2 separate regions of the Homo sapiens genome follow, and region 1 is linked to region 2. The links are contacts of gene promoters, found by promoter capture Hi-C in blood cells and fetal thymus (Javierre and others, 2016). All regions are on one chromosome and are shown on one strand. The core of a region is centred on a gene start or on the middle of the fragment in contact, and the rest is flanking DNA. Distances in the headings are between cores, read along the strand shown.

The links. The method cuts DNA at HindIII sites, captures the fragments that hold promoters and counts their contacts. A CHiCAGO score of 5 or more calls a contact.
Region 1: a contact is called between a fragment that was not itself captured here and the fragment with the promoter of MRPS17 in region 2, in 1 of 17 cell types (erythroblasts). The highest score is 6.1, in erythroblasts.

What each region holds. Positions count from the first base shown.
Region 1 is chr7:55,728,732-55,735,724 of GRCh38, forward strand. It overlaps the pseudogene SUMO2P3. Among named protein-coding and RNA genes, the nearest start is that of SEPTIN14, 130 kb to the right of the region's middle. The HindIII fragment of the contact is 3,085 bases long and covers 1,834-4,918 here.
Region 2 is chr7:55,947,598-55,954,839 of GRCh38, forward strand. MRPS17 (mitochondrial ribosomal protein S17) reads left to right here and starts at 4,280. Exons shown (of 3, transcript NM_015969.3): 1 at 4,280-4,333; 2 at 5,582-5,721. The coding sequence starts at 5,599. RefSeq lists an enhancer at 4,333-4,392. The HindIII fragment of the contact is 16,512 bases long and covers 1-7,242 here.

The sequences.
Region 1 (6,993 bases), core at 2,126-4,625, 220 kb before region 2:
TGGTGGCAGGATCTAGGAGCCTGTAGTCCTAACTACTTGAGAGCCTGAGGTGGGAGGATCTCTTGAGCCCAGAAGTTCAAGTCCAGCCTGGGCAACATACCACGACTCTGTCTCAAAAAAGAAAAAAAAATCTTGCTATTAAAAAATGTCACAAATTTTTTAAAGACAAATGATAAATTAAAAAAATACTTGGCCAGGCGCTGTGGCTCACGCCTGTAATCCCAACACTTTGGGAGGCCAAGGCGGGCGGATCTCGAGGACAGGAGATCGAGACCATCCTGGCTAACACGGTGAAACCCCATCTCTACTAAAAATACAAAAATTAGCTGGGCGTGGTAGCGGGCACCTGTAGTCCCAGCTACTCAGGAGGCTGAGGCAGGAGAATGGCGTGAACCCGGGAGGGGGAGCTTGCAGTGAGTTGAGATCGCACCACTGCACTCCAGCCTGGCGACAGAGCAAGACTCCATCTCAAAAAAAAAAAAAAAAAAATACTTACGGCCAGGCATGGTGGCTCACACCTGTAATCCCAGCACTTTGGGAGGCTGAGGCGGGTGGATCATGAGGTCAGGAGTTCAAGACCAGCCTGGCCAAGATGATGAAACCCCGTCTCTACTAAAAATACAAAAATTAGCTGGGCGTGGTGGCAGGCACCTGTAATCCCAGCTACTCGGGAGGCTGAGGCAGGAGAATCACTTGAACCTGGGAGGTGGAGGCGACAGTGAGTCCAGATCACACCACTGCACTCAAGCCTGGGTGACAGAGCAAGACTCTGTCTCAAAAATAAAAAAGAAAAGAAAATAGAGAGTGTACTTTCACTTGGACCAAAGGCTGCACCTCCCCAATCTATAGATTGTTTCTCAGAAAATAGAAGGTCTCAATTTTCCTCAAAAAAAGAAAAGAAAATTAAGACAATGAAGTACATTGTTACAGCATTTAAAGAGATGCATGATTTTGTTTTGTTTTGTTGTTGTTTTGGTTTAGTTTTTTTTGTTTGTTTTTTATTTTGAGACGGAGTCTCGCTCTGTCACCCTGGCTGGAGTGCAGTGGCGTGATCTCGGCTCACTGTGAGCTCCGCCTCCCGGGTTTACGCCATTCTCCTGCCACAGCCTCCCGAGTAGCTGGGACTACAGGAGCCCGCCACCACGCCCGGCTAATTTTTTTGTGTGTTTAGTAGAGACGGGGTTTCACCGTGTTAGGCAGGATGGTCTCGATCTCCTGACCTCGTGATCCACCCGCCTCGGCCTCCCAAAGTGCTGGGATTACAGGCGTGAGCCACTGCGCCCTGCCAAGTTTTTTGATACCAAGTAACAGAACTCCAAATTTCACATAGGGAATTAAAAAAAAATCATCTGAGGAATACCAGAGGTTTTCACTCAATTGAGGGGTTGTATCCAATTCAGAGAAGTGGCCAGGTTTCCCCTGCTAGGAGGAGTGCAAGAATCACTAGAACCAATATGGCTGTTTGCTGACATGCTCTGTCTCCATTTCTTGTTTCTGCAGGTTTGTATATGGGCTTTGTTCTAAGATGCAGGTTGTCTTCTGCCACATATCAAAAAACAACGCCCTTGACATCTCTTAACTTGAACATCTGGCAGCTCCATTATCAGAAACTAGGTCTTTCCCAGCATCAGTGTTTTACGTCACTGGCTTGGGACTGCAGCCCTGCCCACCAATCAGCTATGAGCAGACCAGTGCTTTGTAGTGCAGACTTAACTACCAGAGCCCACCCCTGTGGTTTGGAAATCATTCCCCAGAAGGGGAAACCACAAAGAGTTAAGAGTAACTTGTAGAAGAATTTGACCATATGTAACAAAAGCTCTATGAATGGGTATAAGCTTGACCCAGCAATAGCATTTCTACCAATTTACCCCAAGGAAGTAATTAAGAATACATGCAGAGACTCAGCTGTAAGAATATGCTTTACAGTATCATCAATAATGGAGAGAAATAATCCAATATGAAACTTTCAATTAATTATCATACATCTACACAGCCATCAAAGTAGTGTTATAAAAATATACTTATTGATATTGGAAACTGTTTATTTTTAAAAAGCATATTAAAAAACGGTCAGCCGGGCGCGGTGGCTCACGCCTGTAATCCCAGCACTTTGGGAGGCTGAGGCGGGCGGATCACGAGGTCAGGAGATCGAAACCATCCTGGCTAACACGGTGAAACCCCATCTCTACTAAAAATACAAAAAATTAGCCGGGCGTGGTAGCAGCTGCCTGTAGTCCCAGCTACTCGGGAGGCTGAGGCAGGAGAATGGCGTGAACCCGGGAGGCGGAGCTTGCAGTGAGCCGAGATTGCGCCACTGCACTCCAGCCTGGGTGACAGAGCAAGACTCCGTCTCAAAACAAAAACAAAGGCCGGGCGCGGTGGCTCAGGCCTGTAATCCCAGCACTTTGGAAGGCTGAGGCGGGCGGATCACGAGGTCAGGAGATCGAGACCATCCTGGCTAACAGGGTGAAACCCCGTCTCTACTAAAAATACAAAAATTTAGCCTGGCATGGTAGCGGGCACCTGTAGTCCCAGCTACTCGGGAGGCTGAGGCAGGAGAATGACGTGAACCGGTGAACCCAGCTAATTTTTTGTATTTTTAGTAGAGACGGGGTTTCACCGTGTTAGCCAGGATGGTTTCGATCTCCTGACCTCGTGATCCACTCGCCTCGGCCTCCCAAAGTGCTGGGATTACAGGCGCCAGCCGGCCAATAAACTGTCTTTAAACAGAAACACACATAAAACAAGATTATGTATTGATCAGTTGAGGGAATATTGTGACCAAAGCCTTGCAGAAACCTAACCCAGAATTTCTCCTAAAAGCAATGGTTCAGTGTTTGCTAGTTCAGTATTTGCTGGGACTTTATAACAAAATTACTACATATAATGAGAACCGACAGTATGGGGCCGGGCGCAGCGGCTCACACCTGTAATCCCAGCACTTTGGGAGGCTGAAGCAGGTGGATCTCCTGAGATCAGGAGTTAAAGACCAGCCTGGCCAACATGGCGAAACCCCTTCTCTACTAAAAATACAAAAATTAGACGGCTGTGGTGGCACACACCTGCAGTCTCAGCTACTTGGGAGGCTGAGGCAGAAGAATTGCTAGAACCTGAGAGGCGAGGTTACCGTGAGCTAAGATCCCGCCACTGCACTCCAGCCTGAGCAACAGAGCTAGACTCCATCTCAAAAAAAAAAAAAAAAAAAAAAAAAAAAAAAAAAAAAAAAAAACTGACACTATCCTGACACTATCTAGGAATGGAATTTCTGGATCATATGAAACCCGACTGGTAGCTCTATCCTCGCCCACCACTGCCGCCTCCTTCTGCCGCTCCTGGTGCTGCTTGTGTGCTCGTTTGGTGCGGACCTGGTACCTCTTTTGTGAAGTGGCAGCTGAGGAGACCGGCGCTCGCCATGGCCGACGAAAAGCCCAACCAAGGAGTCAAGTCGGAGAACAACGATCATACTAATTTGAAGGTGGCGGGGCAGGATGGTTCTGTGGTGCAGTTTAAGATTAAGAGGCATACACCACTTAGTAAACTAATGAAAGCCTATTGTAAGCAACAGGGATTGTCAATGAGGCAGATCAGATTCCGATTCGACGGGCAACCAATCAAGGAAACAGACACACCTGCACAGTTGGAAATGGAGAATGAAGATACAATTGATGTGTTCCAACAGCAGACGGGAGGTGTCTACTGAAAAGGGAACCTGCTTCTTTACTCCAGAACTCTGTTCCTTAAAGACCAAGATTACATTCTCAATTAGAAAACTGCAATTTGGTTCCACCACATCCTGACTACTACCATATGGTTTTCTCTGTTCTTTCATTTCCCCCTTCCCCATTCCTTTATTGTACATAACTGGTATATGTGCACAAGCATATTGCATTTTTTTTAACTAAACAGCCAATGGTATGTTTTGATTGACATCAAGTGGAGACGGGATGGGGAAAAAGTACTGATTCTGTGAAAATACCCCCTTTCTCCATTAGTGGCATGCTCATTCAGCTCTTTATATTCCAGTAAGTTATTTTGCTCTCACTGTTTTAACAACAAAAAAAACACACAAAAATCCTTGCATACCTTGTTCAATTGCAGAATTTTAATGTTTTTCACTTATCATTGTAAAACCAAGGACAATTTTATAACTTTTTTGTACATAGCTGTTACATGTAGGGCAATCTGTCTTTAAGTAGGGACAAATTAAAACAAAAAAAGAAACCTAGATAGTTTTCCCTTCAAGTCAAGCGTCTTGTTGTTTAAATAAACTTCTTGTTTAAAAAAAAAAAAAGAAAGAAAGAAAAGAAACTCCACTGGTAACTTTCTGAGGAACTGCCAAAACTTCACTTTATAGTTTTGTAGGTTGCAAAAAAATAATCTGATGTCCAAGATCACCAGAGGAACAACACCTGTTCCCCCCTCCTATCCAATGGTCTCTCTCCTGAGTGCACTGACTTACTTGCAGAGGAGGAATAAACACAAAAGAAGAAGAAAAAAGCAAGTCAAAGGACATAAATATGGCTCCCTGTGACTTCTCTTATGGAGGTGTGCCCTACTTCACAGTCTTTTATACACAGACAGAAGATAGTCACCATTTTGGACTTTCTCTTTGTTCTGCTTTTTTGGTTTTTTTACTTTTTCTTACTTTCTTACTTCTTTGTACTGACTCATACGTCTCCACATTACAAATGTAATAAATTAACTAGATGCAACAAGAAACAGACTAAACAAGGCTGAAAGCAAATTAATGGCATGGAAGAAAGTATGATCTGAAGCCAGGTGTGGTGGCTTAGGCCTGTAATCCCTGAGTAATCTCAAAAAAAAAAAAAAAAAAAAAACAGAAAAGAAAAAAAGAAAAGAAAGTTTGTGATCTGAGAGACCAAAATAGACACCACTTTATCGACTAAGTTGCACTCAAAGCTTCAGGAAATGAAGTTACCTACGGGCAGAGGGTTCAGGGCCTGGCTGGCATGGCAAATGTCTAAATTCCTTTGGCTAAACTCCCTAACAATAGGAGCTATCAATTCTGATTTACAACCCAGACCACTACAACTCTGATTGGACAGGGGACGGGCCTCACAAACATTCTTTTCTGATAAGCTACTGCAGGCTTTTGGCCAGTTTCAGCAGCTTATAGAGGATTTGCACGAACTGTCTGTGTATCCTGTAGTTCACTTTTTGTTGTAAAGAGCCAAATTCCATCTCGTTTTAATGCTAAAACTCAGTCTCAAAGTAAATGTGGGATGTGTGTGACATATGTGTTTACCCAATTCCCTTATAAATATGTATAGCATTTCCCTCAAAGCTGCTGAATATGATATGGTTTGGTGATATACTTTGGCTGTGTCCCCACCCAAATCTCATCTTGAATTGTAGTTCCCATAATCCCGACGTGTGGTGGGAGGGACCTGGTGGGAGGTAATTGAATCATGAGGGTTGTTATCTCCATGCTGTTCTGGTGATAGTGAGTTCTCACCAGATCTGATGGTTTTATAAGGGGCTTTCCCCTCATTGCTCAGCACTTCTCCTTGCTGCTGCCATGTGAAGAAGGACGTGTTTGCTTCCCCTTCTCCCATGATTGTAAGTTTCCTGAGGCCTCCCTAGCCCTGTGGAACTGTGAGCCAATTAAACTTCTTTCTTTTATAAATTGCCCAGTCTCAGGTATTTCTTCATAGCAGCATGAGAATAGACTAATACAATATGTATGATACTGGCCTTATGAGACTTAACTAACTCTCAAGCTATCCTTCTCCTCTTCTAAGAGAGTGCACCTTCCAGCCACATCAGAGCCATAAGCCAAAAAAGAAAAAGAATTCTAAGCAATAATAAAAAAGAGGTGAGCAAAAGGGAGTAGTGGGAGAGAGTGTAACAGTGATGAAGTCCTCACAGACCTTCTTGGAATTGGATATCTGCAGCAGTCTATCAAAGAGAAAGTTTTACCATGTACCAGGATATCAATGGATGCTTTAAAAGTGGAAATATGTGGTTAAAACTGAAAGAAACCAATATTCTTCTGTAATATACTAGGGATTGTAGAGCTGAAGAAGATTAAAGGGCAGAGGACACTCTACCCTTCCCTCCGCTTGCCTGATGGCAGGACGGCAATTTACAAAGACAAAAGGTTTTCCTGCCTCCTCTCTGCCTTTCCCACCTAAAGATAGGATTTGAAGGGTTTGCTTATAAGCTCATAGACAAAAGCGCCAGAGACTTTTCTCTTCCCATAGATTATTAACCTTCCGACATTTTCCCACCTTTTGGAAACCTGAAGATGCTCTCTTGTCACTATAGGATTTATGAGTCTTTGTTAAAATACTATTTAAGCAAGGCCCCTAAGCCACTGCCTTGAGAAAGAAATCCACTTGAACTGAGAAGCCTTTCCTGTATGATGGGTACAGCAATGACTCAATAAACTTTTTTTTTTTTTTGACATGGAGTCTTGCTCTGTTGCCCAGTCTGGAGTGCAGAGGCACGATCTTGGCTCACTGCAACCTCTGCCTCCCAGGTCCAAGCGATTCTCCTGCCTCAGCCTCTTGAGTAGCTGGGATTACAGGCGCCTGCCACCACACCTGGCTACTTTCTGTATTTTTAGTAGAGATGGGGTTTCACCATGTTGTCCAGTCTGGTCTCAAACTCCTGACCTCAGGTGATTCACCCGTCTCAGCCTCCCAAATTGCCAGGATTACAGGCATGAGCCACAGTGCCCAGCCAAACTTCTGCTGACTTTTATTTTTAGGAGGCTATTTCACCTAAGAACCTATGAGGGCAAGAAAATAAAATATATTTTCTCCCCTAGAAAACACAGAATCACTCTTAAGAGTTGTGTGTGTGTGGCTGTCTGTGTATGTCTGTATGTGTGCTGTGAAACATGCCCATTTAGTAGTTTTTATAAACATAATCATTTTTCTTCATGTTAAATGACTCTTTTGGGAATTAATATCTCTAGTAGTAAAAAAAACTTCTTTAATTTCACAAATATGTCATTTTCTGTTAACT
Region 2 (7,242 bases), core at 3,030-5,529:
CTAGGTTTATGTTTTTTTTTTTTGACAGAGTCTCACTCTGTCACCCAGGCTGGAGTGCAATGGCACAATCTCAGCTCACTGCAACCTCTACCTCCCAGGTTCAAGCAATTCTCTTGCCTCAGCCTCCCAAGGAGCTGGGATTACAGGTGCCCACTACCACGCCCAGCTACTTTTGTGTATTTTTAGTAGAGACGGGGTTTCGCCATATTGGCCAGGCTGGTCTCGAACTCCGACCTCAGGTGATCCACCTGCCTTGGCCTCCCAAAGTGCTGGGATTTCAGGCCTGAGCCACACTGCACCCGACCTTTTTTTTTTTTTTTTTTTTTTGAGACAGAGTCTTGCTCTGTTGTCCAGGCTGGAGTGCAGTGGCATGATCTCAGCTCACTGCAATCTCCGTCTCCTGGGTTCAAGCAATTCTTCTGCTTCAGTCTCCCTAGTAGCTGGGATTACAGGCATGCACCACCACGCCCGGCTATTTTTTTTTTTTTTTTGTATTTTTAAGAGAGATGAGGTTTCACCATATTGGCCAGGCTGGTCTCCAACTCCCGACCTTGTGATCCGCCTGCCAATCTTACCAGACCCAAAATAATAATACTGTCTCAAACTAAATTGTAGCATATGCATTAGCAATGCCTCATCCTTGGTCACGTCATCCATAAGACCTTGCATCAATGAAATAACTCTTATTTGGTCTTTTATAACAAAATATCACTTGTAGTGTTGTGGGACATTTTAAGACCTTTTGTATAAACTTTAAATTTTTGAGACTTGAACTTTCCCAAAAGTATCTAGCCATTGTCTGGTCATTTTTTTGACAGGACATAATGATCTTTTTAGCTAGCATTATTCCAAAGCCTTTATATTCCTTATTTGTATAATCAAAAGGCCATCCAGCTCCTTCTTCGTGAAGAGTGCAGTTTTTGTAGTCAGCTTTTCATTGTAGAACATTTGGCTGCTTAATCATTTTGAAACACACTGTTGAATCCTGCTTCTCCTTGGTTATTATTGTATGTAATCATTAGAGCCAATTAACTGTTAGACCGTCTTTCTACTTTGTTGAAGTAACTATTTTAACTGTTAGACCATCTTTCTACTTTGTTGAAGTAACTTTTTCCAAGATTACTTGGCTTGCCTAGCACCCCAATGTTTATTATTTCTTGATTAAACAGGAACAAATCTATATACACATACATATATATGTGTGTGTGTACATATGCTCGTACCTAGTAAGAAAAAAATATATATTTTTAGGTCAATAATGAATAAGGCTGGGTGCAGTGGCTCACGCCTGTAATCCCAGCACTTTGGGAGGTCAGGGCAGGTGGATCATTTGAGGTCGGGAGTTCAAGAGCAGCCTGGCCAACAAGATGAAACCCTGTCTCTACTAACAATACAAAAATTAGCCGGGTATGGTGACGAGTGCCTGTGATCCCAGCTACTCGGGAGGCTGAGGGAGGAGAATCACCTGAACCCAGGATGCAGAGGTTGCAGTGAGCGAAGATCACCCCACTGCACTCCAGCCTCAGTGACAGAGTGAGACTCTGTCTCAAAAAAAAAAAAAAAAGACTATTGTACATTCACATAGTAAAGTTCTGTGCAACTGAAAAGAAAGATCAGCATGTTCAGTACACTCCAGAAGCTGATTTGGAGCGATTCTTCCAGGATATGTTAAGTGAAAAGGGCAAATACAAAGCAGTCTACATAGAATGTTACTTTTGTAAGAGAATATATACAATCTTTGCAAAAAGAAATATAAGCAGGCCAAACCAGAAACTAATAAATTAGTTACCTATGGGAAACAAGAACAAGATCAAAAAGATTGGGAATGGAATGAAATTTCTCTGCTTGTATCTTTTTAAAGTTTTAGTCCTTCCTTCTCCCCTCCCCTCCCCTCCCCTTCCCTTCCCCCCTCCCTTCCCGTCCCTTTTTTTTTTTTTTTTTTTTTTTTTTTTTGAGACAGAGTCTCACTCCCTCACCCAGGCTGGAGTGCACTGGCACCATCTCCGCTCACTGCAACCTCCACCTTCCAGGTTCAAGCGATTCTCCTGCCTTAGCCTCCTGAGTAGGTGGGATTACAGGCGTGTGTCACTATGCCCAGCTAATTTTTGTATTTTTAGTAGGGATGGAGTTTCACCATGTTGCCACAGGCTGATCTCGAACTCCTGGCCTCAGGTGATCCGCATGCCTCGGCCTCCCAAAGGGCTGGGATTATAGGCGTGAGCCACTGCGCCCAGCCTTAAAGTTTTAATTTTTGAACCATTTTAATGATTTACACATTCAAAAAATAAGATTAAAAGGATATGGTTTTTCCTATCCTCGAATACAAAATTGTATACAAACATATAAAAATGAAGGCCAGGCACGGTGGCTCACGCCTGTAATCCCAACACTTTGGGAGGCCGAGGCGGGCGGATCATTAGGTCACAAGATGGAGACCATCCTGGCTAACGCGGTGAAACTCCATCTCTACTAAAAATACAAGAAAAATTAGCCGGGCGTGGTGGCGGGTGCCTGTAGTCCCAGCCACCCGGGATGCTGAGGCAGGAGAATGGCGTAAACCCAGGAGGCAGAGCTTGCAGTGAGCCGAGATTGTGAGCGAGACTCCGTCTGAAAAAAAAAAAAAAATCTAATTGTATAGAATATTGTTACAACCACACAGAAGAAAAAAAAAGAATCCCAAGAAATGTTGAACACAGTGCTGTCATTGTACACTCTAAGGACAAAAAGAACCACAAAAAATAATCTCACGCATCACTTAGAAAGTTTGTTTTTAGTCGGGATATTGTTAGTACAACTCCAAAAGCATATAGTGTATACTATAGGATTTAGCATTAATCATTGATGTTGTCGGGGTAGGGACCAGAGTTCTAACTGTGGAAGAAAGGAGATAAAAATACGGAACTGGTGAAGCAAAAGAAGAAACCCACTGGTGGCTCATGCCTGTAATCCCAGCACTTTGGGAAGCCGAGACGGGCGGATCACGAGGTCAGGAGATCGAGACCATCCTGGCTTACACGGTGAAACCCCGTCTCCACTAAAAAAAATACAAAAAATTAGCCGGCCTGGTGGCAGGCGCCTGTAGTCCCAGCTACTCGGAAGGCTGAGGCAGGAGAATGGCGTGAACCCGGGAGGCGGAGCTTGCAGTGAGCCGAGATCGCGCCAGTGCACTCCAGCCTGGGCGACAGAGACAGCCTCCGTCCCAAAAAAGAAAGAAACCCACTGCTGTTTAAAGGTAGGTGTGTGTGTGCGTGTGTGTATGTTTCAATGTATCGATAGCTACATCTGCTGAAATAGCCTACAGGCAGGAAAATCCCAGTAGCAAGTTGCTCACCTAGCACTCAGAGCTTTGTTGCTAAGTACCACTCCCCACTGATATTTTTCGTTTGAAAAACTTCTGATACAATAACTGGTCAGGGAAAGTATAGGTAAATCTGGACCAGCCAGGCACAGTGGCTCATGCCTGTAATCCCAGAACTTTGGGAGTCCGAAATAGGTGGATCACTTGAGGCCAAGAGTTCAAGAACAGCCTGGCCAACATGGTGAAATCCCGTCTCTACTAAAAATAAAAAAAATTAGCTGGACGTGGTGCCAGATGCCTGTAGTCCCAGCTACTCAGGAGGCTGAGGCAGGAGAATCCCTTAAACCCAGGAGGCAGAGGTTGCAGTGAGTCAAGATCATGCCACTGCACTCCAGCCTGGGCAACAAGAGTGAGACCCTGTCTCAAAAAAAAAAAAAAAAAAAACACTTTTAGGCCAGGCACGGTGGCTCACGCCTGTAATTCCAACACTTTGAAAGGCCAAAGTGGTTGGATCACTTAAGGCCAGGAGTTCGAGACCAGCCTGGCCAACATGTGAAACCCTGTCTCTACTAAAAATACAAAAATTAGCTGGGCATGGTGGTGCACGCCTGTAATCCCAGCTACTTGGGAGGTTGAGGCAGAAGAATCGCTTGAACCCGGGAGGCAGAGGTTGCAGTGAGCAGAGATCGCGCCACTGCACACCAGCCTGGGCGACAGAGCGAGACTCCGTCTCAAAAAAAAAAAAAAAAAAAAGAAACAAAACAAAAGAATGAAAGAAAAGTCCGAAACCTCCTGCGCCACTGTCCACTAGCTGCGCGCGTTAGGAAACCAGAGGTCAGCGCCCCCGACCCCGCCACCGCCGCGGGTCCCTTTAAGGGAGAGTGGGCGGGGTCCTGCCTTTAACTCCGCCCACGGCTAAGGAGATGCACGGCCTACGAGAGGGGTAGTGTGGGACTGAGCCAATGCGTACGGCGTGACGCCATCCCGCTGCGACCGGCGCTCCCCGGGGCAGGTGGCTGCATAGTCTTGGCGGAGGTGAGTCTCGTGGTGGAGGTGAGGGCAGGCTCCGGGGTATTGCTGCCGGGGGAGGATTTGCTGGGGACCCAAGGCACCCTCGCGTGAGAGCCCTGAGAGCGAATCGCTTCGTCTGACCTCGGGGTTGTCTGGGGCGAGGGCACGAATCACCCCAACCTTTCCGAAGCCTGGTGGAATGGCTTGTGAACTGATCTCAAAAGCAGCCCAAGTCATCCGTCGCTGGGCCGGGGAGGGGGACACCGCGGCGGCCCCGCCGAGTGCTACCTGGGCACTGAGCCTGTGGGGAGAGGCGACCCAGCGGGGTGGAGAGAGATAAGGGACCAGTAACGTCCAGCGTTTGTCCGTGGTATTGAGCGTTCTGTGGGTCAAATTCTCAAAGCACTCCTGCGAAATAGGCCTGCCCATTTTGCAGAAGGGGAACGTGAGGCTTGGCGAAGTTAAAGTTACCGCTTTGTAAGCGCTGTAAAGATGAGAGGTTGGGTAGTGGGGAACGTGTAAGCATCTCTGAAATGGTGATTCAAGCCGGGCGCGGTGGCTCACGCCTCTTAATCCCAGCACTTTGGGAGGCTTGAGGCGGGCGGATCACCTGAGGTCAGGAGTTCGAGACCAGTCTGGCCAACATGGTGAAACTCTGTCTTTACTAAAAATACAAAAATTAGCTCGGCGTGGTGGTGCGGGCCTGTAGTCCCGGCTACTCGGGAGGCTGAGGGAGAAGAATCGCTTGAACCCGGGAGGCGGAGGTTGCAGTGAGCCGAGATCGCGCCACTTCACTCCAGACTGGGCGAAAGAACTAAACTTCATCTAAAGAAAAATACATATGGCCGGGCGCGGTGGCTCACGCCTGTAATCCTAGCACTCTGGGAGGCCGAGGCGGGCGGATCACGAGGTCAGGAGATCAAGACCATCCTGGCTAACACGGTGAAACTCCATCTCTACTAAAAATACAAAAAAATTAGCCGGGCGTTGTGGCGGGCGCCTGTAGTCCCAGCTGCTCGGGAGGCTGAGGCAGGAGAATGGCGTGAACCCAGGAGGCGGCGTTTGCAGTGAGCCAAGATCGCACCACCGCACTCCAGCCTGGGCGACAGAGAGAGACTACATCTAAAAAAAAACAAAACAAAACTGTTTCTGGGTGGAGGGGGGAACGAAAAAGAAAAAAACTGTTTCTGGACTAACCTGGACAGTTCTTGTGACAAAATTCATGTGGCATCATAACCACCAGAATATGAGACTTTGGAATTTGCTTTTCAGGTGACCAAAGCCACGTAATGTCCGTAGTTCGCTCATCCGTCCATGCCAGATGGATTGTGGGGAAGGTGATTGGGACAAAAATGCAAAAGACTGCTAAAGTGAGAGTGACCAGGCTTGTTCTGGATCCCTATTTATTAAAGGTGAGAAACATTCTTGTTTCCGGGTGGCTTTGGTAAATCACCACCATGTCCTGGGTCCTAAGCAAAAAAACATTTATCTCTCAGTAAAGATGTCTTGTCTCTCATCTGCTTTGAGCCAGGCATTTTGCTGGTCTGTAGGTATAACACGGTTTACACATTCCAAGAAAACAGTTAATGTCAATCCACTCTAACTGCTGTAGTCATTCTGTATGCAAAGTACTGGCCGGATGAGGTGGCTCACACCTGTAATCCCAGCACTTTGGGAGGCCGATGCGGTTGGATCACCTGAGATCAGGAGTTCGAGACCAGTCTGGCCAACGTGGTGAAACCCCGTCTCTACTAAAAATACAAAAATTAGCTGGGCATAGTGGTGCGCACCTGTAATCCTAGCTACTCTGGAGGCTGAGGCAGGAGAATCTCTTGAAGCCGGGAGGCGGAGGTTGCAATGAGCCACAATTGTACCATTGCACTCCATCCTGGACAAGAGCAAAACTCTGCCTACCATGCACAATTCACAATAGGGTTTGTGCTCCTATAGGAATCTAATGCCGCTGCTGATCTGACAGGAGGTGGAGCGCAGGCGGTAATACTCATGCTGGCTCAACGCCACTCACCTCCTGCTGTGCGGCCCTGTTCCTAACAGGCCACTGAATGGTATCAGTCTGCTGCCCTGGGGGTTGGGGATCCCTGCTTGAACCCAAAGACAGGCTTGGAAACACGGGTAGGGATGAAGACTGGAGGTAAGGGAATGGGCAAAGAGGCTGCTGCAAAAGTCTAGGATGGAAATAAGGACCTGAACTAAAGTTGATGTAGTGGGGATGGAGTGGAAAAAATATTTCAGGAAGGACAGAGTCATTGATTTGTTTGCTGTGCCCAGGGGACGGATAGGTGCCAAGGATGGTTTCACATCCAAAGTTCAGCACACAGGTGGGTACCAATGCTGGTCATTATCAAGGATTAGAAACACAGGAGCAAGCTGAAGAGTGACTGCATGATCCTTGACCTTTGGGAGACCTTAGTTTGAATACTGACTCTTGTTTACCAGCTACACACATGGCTTAACCTCCCTGAACTTTTCTCATATGTACCTGCTGCAACAGGGTTGTTATAAAGAATAGGTGATTCTAGGCTGGGCGCGGTGGCTCATGCCTGTAATCCCAGCACTTTGGGAGGCCGAGGCAGGTGGATCACCTGACGTCAGGAGTTCAGGACCAGCCTGGCCAACATGGTGAAACCCCATCTCTACTAAAAAAACATACAAAAAATTAGCCGGGCATGGTGGCAGGCACCTGTAATTCCAGCTACTTGGGAGGCTGAGGCAGGAGAATCTCATGAATCTGGGAGGCGGAGGTTGCAGTGAGCTGAGATCGTGCCATTGCACTCCAGCCTGGGCAACAGAGCGAGAATCCATCTCACTGGATTGTCTCACTATATCACTCAGGCTCTAATTTTTGTACTAGAAGCCTCCTTAGTATCTTATCTTTTCCTAAGTCCTGGCTTGTTTTCCATACGTTACTTTTT